Linked DNA regions of Homo sapiens: all the other regions are linked to region 3. Evidence: promoter capture Hi-C in human tissues and cell types (Jung and others, 2019). All regions are on one chromosome and are shown on one strand. Each heading gives the region's core, a stretch centred on a gene start or on the middle of the fragment in contact. The rest is flanking DNA. Distances are from core to core; before and after follow the strand shown. Region 1 holds the start of ZSCAN32 (zinc finger and SCAN domain containing 32). Region 2 overlaps ELOB (elongin B). Region 3 holds the start of ZSCAN10 (zinc finger and SCAN domain containing 10).

Region 1 (3,181 bases), core at 14-2,513, 300 kb before region 3:
GCTCCAAAATCTGCTCCTTGGTGTGCAGCTCGGGTTGCAACCACTGACGGCAGAGCTGTCGGAGCTGGGAGAGAGCCTCTTGGGGTCCAGACACCTCTTGATAACAAAAGCGTCTGAAGCTCTGGCGGCAGAGCTCAGGATCTGGGCAGTTTTTTTGCAGAGGAGGGCCCCGTTTCTCTTCTAGTTTGGCTATTATGTGTCTCTCTTGCTTGGAGGAAGCTTCAGTGTTGGAGCTTAAAGTTATCTCCATTTTAGCTGCCATTTTGGGCGTCAGGAGACAACTCTCTCCTTGTAAACGGGTTAAGCCTTTGGGATCATGACCCTGGAGAAGTCTCTGAATACTAGAAAGATTCTAGAAACGAAGGTTCTCTGAGGATGTTAGGGGGAACGGGATGCAGAGACAAAGCCTCACTTGCTAGCCTTTACTAGCCAAACTCAAGACAACGCGGTCCCTGGGAGTGGGAAGAGTTTTGTCTTCTTGTCAGTTTTTTGCAGTCTTGCAAAGGAGAAAAGTCATAACGTCCTAAAAGGACTCTGGGGAAAAAATACTTCTTTTATTTCAGTAGCAAGCACACAGGTCTCGGATTTAATGAGCAATACGCTCTAACCGGCGGGTGGAGCGGAATCCCTAGGAAAAGTTCAAGCTGTCGCAGGTAGCTTGCCCCAACTCTCCCGCATCCTGGCGGAAACCGACCGGGTGCATGTCGCCGGGTGCTAAACGGTAGAGCTAAGCGAGGCCACAGCGCCAGCCGGGGGTGTGAGGTAGCGAACAGCCTCCTGCACGCGAGCAAAGCGGCTGCTCGCTGCCGAGGCGCCGCAGGCCCAGTGGCTCCGGCCTCCAGGGCGGCCCCGCGGCCCAGCCAGCCCCAGGCCTGGCGAAGCTGCCGCAACCCGATGCGCAGCTGAACTCCACGCCCGGTGTGAGCTCGGACTGGCGACTGCGACACCGGTACCCCGAACAGCCCGGCGCCCCGCACCCACCTGCAGCCGACTCACCTCTCCGGGAACCCAAGACCGAGGGACTTAGGACCCGACACCGGCGAGCACGGGCTGGGGGCGGGGCCGATGCCACTCGCTGCGGAGACGCCCACTAGCTGCTGAGGACAACTACTGACAGGGCCCGCCTCCTGCCAAGGGCATTCTCTACCGTCTATTGGTTGCTGCGCCTGTCAATACCGTCGCAGTGCATCCCGGGAGCTGCAGTCCGGCAATTCGGCTTGCGGGCCTGCGCAGGGGCGTGCGTAATGGGCGGAGCGAATCGCGCCGCTGACTTCCGGCCCGGAGGCTGAGGGAGTTTGTGGAGTCGCGAGTGCTGGTGTCCGGTGAGTTCTCCGCTTCCTTGCGGCCGGCGGGATTAGCCGCTGGGCCCTGCGACGGCCGAGGAGCCCCTCCCCGCTGGGAGTCTTCTCCGAGGCGTTCGGGTCCGGCCCCGATGGGCGTCTCCTTGGGACAGGCAGCCTCCCTCAGGCCGGGCGTCCCCAGACGCGCCGCGATCACCGTGCCCCGCTCCCACCGTGCGGATCACCCCGAGCCTGAGCGCCGGCGCCCCGGGACCCCCTGGCCTTGACCCTGCTCATCTCGTCCCTGTCTCGCCCACTCCCTACTCATCCACAGTGCCTAGCCCTGGCACCGAGTGCGTTCTGAGTACTCAATAAATAGTTAACTAAGTGAAAAACCTATCAACCTGGCTCCCCATCCTCATGCTACATTTTTTTCCGAGTGTTTGGGCCATCGCTAGAGTGAAGTAAAATTTTCAGAGAACAGCATTTTAAAATTTAACGATGAGTGGGAGGTAAGGGGTCAAAAGGGGTCAAGAAGGGTGCAGGTTCCGCCTTCTGCATGAAGTTAGAAGAGCTTTTATTAAATTCTTCTTCAGCCAGGTAAGGCACAGGATGAACATAATGAAGGCAAGGGGTGCTGGTTCTAGTCCTGGCCTTGCTGCCTAGGAGCTGTGCTGTGTGATGCTTTAGGCAAGATACTTCATCGCTCTCAGTTTCTTTTTGGCTAGAAAGCAGTGCTAACAATAATAATGCCCTTGATTTCTCTATCTCTAGAAGCACTGAAATGTAAAGAGAATTTAAGTGAAGGCAGTTCAAGTTCCTTGAGAAAAGGGAACCCAAATCCATTTTTAAAATATAAAAAAATTTCTTTAATTTTTAAAAAACATTTACCATCATAACCATTTTTAAGTGTACAGCTCAGTAGTCCTGAGTATATTCATCTTGTTGTGCATGCTGGATCCATTTTAATACCACATGGTGAGGGTGTATCAGCCCCTGGAGAAAATGTAAATTACGATCTGCTTTAATCTGTGTTTTAAGTAGATAAAAACCAACACAAACTCATTAAAAAAGACTGCCTTCGCGGGTGCAGTGGCTCACACCTGTAATCCCAGCACTTTGGGAGGCCAAGGTGGGAGGATCACTTGAGCACAGGAGTTTGAGACCAGCCTGGGCAACATAGTGAAACTCCACCTCTACAAAAAATACAAAAGTTAGCTTCTATTTAAAATTATTTTTAAGGTCGGGCATGGTGGCTTATACTTGTAATCCTAACACTTTGGGAGGTTGAGGTGGGAGGATTGCTTGAGTTCAGGAGTTTGAGACCAGCCTGGGCAACAGAGTGAGACTCCATCTCTAAAGATAAAAAAACAAATAAAATTATTTTTAAAAGTTATTTATTAATTTTAAATTATATAAAACTATTTTTAAAATTAACTCTTAAAAAAATATTGCCTTACATAAACTGGCCTTGGAGATCCAAACATGTTGTCAAGACTTGAGTATATTGTCCTCTTGTAAACAGGCTCACTCCTGTGATGGAAGAGTGGAGTAGAGAGTGGGACATAGTTGGAGACAACTCTGATCTTACATTTGCCCAATTTACCAATTCCTAGAAAATGAAGAGCTTTCCCTACCTCTCATGTAAAATCTGAGAAAAGAATTTTGATAGGCCTAGCTGTGTGTCATATGCCCACTTCTGGGGAAGTGGGTATTGTAATTAATATCCCCACCAGAACCAATGAGAGGGACTTTTTCTTTTTTTGAGACAGTCTCGCTCTTGTTGCCCAGGCTGGAGTGCAATGGCGTGATCACAGCTCACTGCAACCTCCGCCTCCCGGGTTCAAGCGATTCTCCTGCCTCAGCCTCCCGAGTAGCTGCGACTACAGGTGCGTGCCACC
Region 2 (2,990 bases), core at 486-2,985, 330 kb after region 3:
GAGATGCTTACAGAAACCAAAGCTTATTTTGTGAAGCCAGCTCACATTTACAGGAGGCTGAGTGAGTGCCTGGCTCCGTGCTCTGCATGTTACTCTGTGTGTGGCTTCCACTGCCCTGTCTCATCCTCTCAGTAGCCCTGGGAAGTCCACATACCATCATCCGTGTTCTGCAGATGAGGACACAGGCTTACCAGCAGTCACGTAGGGAGCCACGGTTAGGATGCTGACTGCCGGGCCCTTGCTGGAGTCAGACATCATACCAGGCTCTATGCTATGTATCACCGAAACCCTCTGCATCTCTGTGTGGCTGAGATTTGGATTTTGCCAGTTTTCAGGTTCAGTAAAGTGAGCCTGGGGAGGTTAGGTCATCTGCTGGGACTGCCACATCTAGGATTCAGATCCAGAGCCTGGGCTTCCATCAGCCATACCCCACCCCTGCCCAAGCTTTAGAAACCTGGGGATTAGGGAGTGGTTTACTACTCGCCAAGATATCTTCTTCCACCCAAGAGAAAGGGAGGGGAGATTTAAAATATTTTGTCTCTAGGAACTTGAAGAGAGGTTATAGAGCTGTGTTTTCACAGCTGTGGACCCAGCAGCTGTGTGGATGGCTGAGAAAACTTGGATAAAGTTGTAAGGAATTCTTATTTTTCTGCCTGTAAGGGAACATAGCAAAGGCTGAAGAGGAAGAGTAGAGTCCTAGCTCCACCTTTCCGTTCCATAAGTTCAGGCTAGGCCTCAGTCTCAGCAGCTATATCCTCTGGCCAGCTACCTTGCCCTCCTGCCCCTCCTGGCCCCAGTGTTCCCTTCTCCTTAAAGGGGTGTGATGAGACTGGCTTCACAGCAAGGTGGTGTTGAGTCCTCATGCACCCCAGGTCTGGCCTGCTGCCAGTGCCCAACAGATGGGAAGCTTCAGAGCCTTTCTGTGGGCTCTTTCTGCCCAGATGGTGATGTTAAGAGTCAGGTGCAGGGCTGGCATAGACACAGGTCGTGCCTTGTACATGGGTGCATTTTTGTTGTTGTTGTTTCTGAGACAGAGTCGCACTCCGTTGTCTAGGCTGGAGTGCAGTGGCGCCATCTCAGCCCACTGCAGCCGCTGCCTCCCGGGTTCAAGCGATTCTCTTGCCTCAGTGGCCTGAGGAGCTGGGATTACAGGCATGTGCCACCACGCCCAGCTAATCTTTGTGTTTTTAGTAGAGATGGGGTTTCACCATGTTAGTCAGGCTGGTCTCAATCTCCTGACCTCAGGCGATCCATACATCCCAGCCTCCCAAAGTGCTGGGATTACAGGCCTGAGCCTCGGTGCCTGGCCCAGGGGTGCCTGTCTGAAGAGAGCAAGGGAGTGCCAAGAGCATATCTGGTCTGCTTCGTGAACCGAAGCTGGGCTGTGTTCCCCCAGAAGTGTCCCTTTCTCTAATTTCAACAGTGGTACCCCTAGAGGTTTGCTGTGACTTGGAAGATACTGATAGACCCATTTTGCAGATGAGAAAATCAAGGCTAAGGAAGGTGACTTGTTTTTCTCCCACAACCCCTAATATGGCATGGAATGTGGTGGTGACTCCGGAGCCCAGGTCACATCATCCCTCTTGCAGGTGATGGCTGTCTTGATAGGGGGCACAGCATGGGCTGTCAGCTCTTTGCTTCCCCATGGAATGCTTGCAGAAACACACTTCTGGGTGCAGCTCAACCCATCATCATGTTGTTCCCAGGCCTTGAATGGGTGCCCCACCCTCCGCCTCTCCCCTCCCCCAAGCTTACCACTCAAGGAGATGAGTATTTCAAATCAAATGTTAAAGGGCATTGTCCCGGCTCATCACAAAAGAATGAGGGAGGTAGTGAAGGCACGAATTGTCACAGGTTTGTGGCTTGGAAGATGGATTAGTTTCTGAACCTCGGCACAGTGGGCACATTGGGCTGGATTGCTGTGTGGGTTGCCTTGTGCACCATAGCACGTGGAGCCGTATCCCAGGCCTCTACCCACTAGATAGCGCTGGGGCACCCCACCTCCCCATTTGTGACCGCCACAACTGTGATCAGGCATTCCAGCTTTCCCTGGGATGCCTGATCAGTTGAGAACCCTGAGCCAAGCAGAGATGGGTCTCCTAGCTGGAAGAAAGCACAGGAGAAAAGCTGTGGGTTTGTTTGCTGTGTGTTGGGGTGACAGTAGGGACAAGACAGGGAAGGCCTTTGCCTTCCTGGAGCCAGTCAAAAGGGCAGTTTGTCCAGTGGTAAGTGCCCCTACGCCCAGAGTGTCAGGATGTCTTGACTTTTGGGGGTGCGTGGACTGGAGGTTCATCTGAGGAGGTGACCTGAGTTGGACCCTGAAAGTCCAGAAGCAGCCAGCCATTCCGAGTGCTGGGACCAGCAAGTGCGAAGGTCTGAGTTAGGAAAGAACTTACAGAAGAACATAGAGAGCCAGAGCCTCAGAGCGTGGGAAGCAGAGGGAGAGACAGACGGCAAGGACTTGGTGGTATTCAGGTCATGATGGGAAGCCACTGGATGGTTTTCAGCAGGGGAGGAATAGTCTAGATAGTCTAGTTTGATTTTTTTTTTTTGAGATGGAGTCTGTGTCGCCCAGGTTGGAGTGCAGTGGCGCGATCTCAGCTACTGCAAGCTCCGCCTCCCGGGTTCACGTCATTCTCCTGCCTCAGCCTCCCGAGAAGCTGGGACTGTAGGTGCCCGCCACCATGCCCGGCTAATTTTTTTTTTTTTTTTTTTTTTGTATTTTTAGTAGAGATGGGGTTTCACCGTGCTAGCCAGGATGGTCTTGACCTCCTGACCTCATGATCTGCCCGTCTCGGCCTCCCAAAGTGTGTGAAGGGAACAAGGAGATATATTCTGGGTGAAGGGTGATGCTGGCTGCAGATGGTGAGCCCTCAGACTCACTAGTGGACATGGAAGATGAGGAAAGGGGCCCCAGCATGGTCAGTGGGAAGGGCTGGGGACCTTCAGGTTGGGCCCACAGGGGTAGGAGACATTACCGTGGGGCCACG
Region 3 (3,280 bases), core at 377-2,876:
AGCCCCAAACTGAAAACTGCCCACGGGCTACCCATAGCAGAATGAATAACTGATGTAATGAGGAAAATCATTCAGCAACGAGAGGGAAAGAACGCTCGATGGCATGGAGTCCCAGCTGTAGTCCCAGCTCCTTGGTAGACCGAGATGGGAGGATCACTTTAACCCAGGAGTTTGAGTCCAGCCTGGGAGATATGGCAAGACCTTGTCTCTAATAAAATAAAATAAGTGGAATTGGGAAAATTACAATTTTAAAAGAAACAAAAATTTTTAGTAGAGATGGGGTTTCACCATGTTGTCCAGGCTAGTCTTGAACTCCTGACCTCAGGTGATTAAAGAGGCTGAGTGCGGTGGCTCATGCCTGTAATCCCAGCACTTTGGGAGGCCAAGGCAGGTGGATCACCTGAGTTCAGGAGTTCAAGACTAGCCTGGCCAAAATGATGAAACCCCATCTCTACAAAAAAAAAAAAAAAAAAAAAAATGAACCGGGCATGATGAGACAGGCCCCACGCCTCTCGCTTCCGAGACTGTAATGGCTGCCTGGTCCCGCCAAGGCCACACCCGCTCCGGCGCTACAGCACCCCGCCCCGCCCCGGACACGCCCCCTCCGTCCCTACAGAACCCCGCCCCGCCCCTTGGCCTTCAGGCCCACTTCCCTGGGGGCGGGGTTTTCTGGCCCCGCCCCTGAACAAACTATGGAGTGGGAGGAGCCCGCGACTGGGAGAGCGAGGCGCGGGACGCGGGGAATGCAGAGCAGACCAAGGAGAAAGACCGTCGTACGAAGGGAGCACTAGACAACTGAAGTAGGAACAGGATGAGCTCAGGTGTTAAGTGCAGGAAAACAAAGACCCGTCAGATGAGCCAGTCAGGAGGGTCCTGGCCCCAACGGACCGAGGGGTCTAGGCCGGGGGAACGGCCAACACCTGAGAGGTGGTCCTGGCTCCCCGGGGGCTCAGAACGCTCAGGAAGGCACCAGCTGCAGCCAAGGGCACAACCCAAGAAGGCACCTTAAGCACAGGGATGGAATTAGTTTGGGGCCAAACGCTGTTGGTTAGGTCACTTCCCTCCCGGGGAGCCCTTGCTTCGTCATCGGTAAAGTTGGGACAAAAGCCACCTGGCAGGACTTGGGAGGACTTTAGGTGACCGTGTAGATGGAGCAAACTCTGCCCCATCACATCCTCCTCTTCCATTTTTTCCTAGCACCGTCGCTGCTCCTTTGCCCTAGAATGTAAGCCCCTGAGAGCAGGGCCTCATTCCTTCAGTTTCTCTCTGTGTCCTTAGCCCCTGCTTTGTAACAGTGCCTGGCACACAGGAGGCCATTGCAAAGAGTAGTCACGTGAATGAAAAGCCTAGCAAAGAAGCCAGCACACTGTGGGCATTTAAAAATGGCAGCTCTTAGCCCAAAGGAAAGACGGGCAGACCTGCAAGGGGCACCAGGCCAGTCTTGATTTGGGAGGTGGTTACACTCTCACACAGGCTGGGATTGAAATCTGGATTTCTCACTTTGTCTTCATGTCACTGGCCCCGCCCTCTTCCCATCCCGCTCCCAAACTGGGAGCTTAAGGGTTAACTCTAGGAAGCCCCTCATCACCTGGATGGGATGGGACTGGGGCAAGGAACTTCCTGTTCCATTTTCCCAGAGCCCTTCCCCAGGCTGGCGGAGGCTGGCTTTGGCCCTGGAGTCCTCAGAAAACCCCCCAGCATCTCTGCCTGTGTAGTGGGGACTCCGAGTGGTGAGTTGGAGGGAGGTCGGGGTGCAGGCTGCCAGGACGGGTGCTAGGAGCTCGCAGCAGCTTGGAGAGAGCAGGGGAGGCTCCAGGCCTTGGTGCTGGGGTGGGGGCTGGAAGAGTCTTGGGAGGATGTAGAGGGTCTGCTGGGGAGCCTCGTGCCAGCCAGCTTGGTGGACCTGTCGCGATGGGGGCGTTGGGGACGAGGGAGATCGCAGAACTTCCTGTGACATTGAAGAAGGCTGGCTTCACGTGCTCCCAGGTGGACTGATGGGCCTTGTCCACTCAGCCCAGCACGCGGAGGGAGGCCCCTCCAACAAACAACAAATCAGGCAGCTGCCAACTGTGTCCAGGGAGAAAGGGAGTGTTCCCGGCTGAGGACCCCACCTTTGCCGCCTTCCCCAACTCTGGGCTCTCAGGTGACCTGGGTGGGTCTCGTGGCAGCACCTCCACCCCGGGCTCCAAATTAAGCTGCTCAAATGTTGGATGGTGGCTGTAGAGCCTCTGCCTGCCTCCCTACCCAGCCCACCCCCAACAGAGGTGCATATTAACAGAGCTTTTGTCCTGGAGATCTGGGGGGAGGGAGAGATTCTCTGAAGCCAACTTGTCTCGAATTCCACCTCTTTGAAACCTTTTGGAGAGATCTCACCTGGAGATTCCGGCCTCCCTGTGTGGCTTGCCCTGAGAGCTGAAATTTGGAATCTTCATTTTTTTTCTGTTTCATGCTGTGATATTTCGGCTAAGGCTAGGAAAATGGCACAGAGCAGGATGGAGATCAGTTCCTTTTCTGTTTCAGAGCTTTGGCACTGTGTTCTAGACCTACACTCTCAGCCTAAAGCAAACCTTGGCTCCACCTGGTGTGACCCTGAGCATGTCACCAAGTGCAAAGCTTGGTCTTTGCACTTGGCAAAGGGAGAAGTGATTGTTTCGTGCGTGGGCTGGACTGGGATGAAATGAGCTTAATCGCCAGACACTCAGTACCTGCCCGCTGCTCCTGCACGGCAATGGATGAGCAGTGATTAGTTTTCTTGTTATTTTGTGCATGCTACTAAAAACCAGTGAAACGTAATCCCATTTTCTTCCCCCTCCCCCACTCTTTTTTTTTCTTTTCTTTTCTTTTCTTTCTTTCTTTCTTTTTTTTTTTTTTTTTTTTGAGACAGGGTCTTCGCCTTTTATCCAGGCTGGTGTGCAGTGGCGCGAACATGGCTCACTGCAGCTTTGACCCCCCAGGTTCAAGCAATCCTTCTGCCTTGGCCACCCAAAATGCTGGGATTATAAGCATGAGCCACCGCATCCGGCCTCACAACACCATTTTTCTGATCATTTATCACAGACTTTTTCTGTCCTAGACGTTGTTACATGCTTTCCTTCGAGATGGCCAGAATCACTGCCATTCCCTAATTTCTGCTAACAGACACTGAAGCAACTTCAAGTGCTGGATGAACACTCATTGAACTAGACACAGCTCCTACTCCCAGGCCAGGCAGAGAAATACGCTCATCTGTGATTGAGGCACTCCATCGCCCTAGTGGGGAGAGATGGGGTGGGAGGATGGG

Evidence for each region. Contacts are between HindIII fragments. The study calls those that stand out against the background at their distance.
Region 1: a contact is called between the fragment with the promoter of ZSCAN32 here and the fragment with the promoter of ZSCAN10 in region 3, in 3 of the 25 tissues and cell types used here (dorsolateral prefrontal cortex, spleen and thymus).
Region 2: a fragment that was not itself captured here is called in contact with the fragment with the promoter of ZSCAN10 in region 3 in 1 of the 25 tissues and cell types used here (dorsolateral prefrontal cortex).

Annotation. Positions count from the first base shown.
Region 1 is chr16:3,399,086-3,402,266 of GRCh38, reverse strand. ZSCAN32 (zinc finger and SCAN domain containing 32) reads left to right here and starts at 1,263. Exons shown (of 7, transcript NM_001284527.2): 1 at 1,263-1,322. ZNF174 (zinc finger protein 174) reads right to left here and starts at 1,052. Exons shown (of 3, transcript NM_003450.3): 1 at 1-1,052. The coding sequence starts at 262. It overlaps LOC105371059 (a long non-coding RNA gene), which reads right to left. Exons shown (of 4, transcript XR_007064949.1): 3 at 2,741-3,181; 4 at 2,598-2,636. RefSeq lists silencers at 706-925, 1,476-1,625 and an enhancer at 1,003-1,502. The HindIII fragment of the contact is 10,964 bases long and covers 1-3,181 here.
Region 2 is chr16:2,772,267-2,775,256 of GRCh38, reverse strand. All of the region lies in intron 3 of ELOB (elongin B), which reads left to right. Among named protein-coding and RNA genes, the nearest start is that of ELOB, 3.5 kb to the left of the region's middle. RefSeq lists a silencer at 2,036-2,188. The HindIII fragment of the contact is 3,004 bases long and covers 234-2,990 here.
Region 3 is chr16:3,097,640-3,100,919 of GRCh38, reverse strand. ZSCAN10 (zinc finger and SCAN domain containing 10) reads left to right here and starts at 1,626. Exons shown (of 6, transcript NM_032805.3): 1 at 1,626-1,730. RefSeq lists a silencer at 604-663 and an enhancer at 824-873. The HindIII fragment of the contact is 18,144 bases long and covers 1-3,137 here.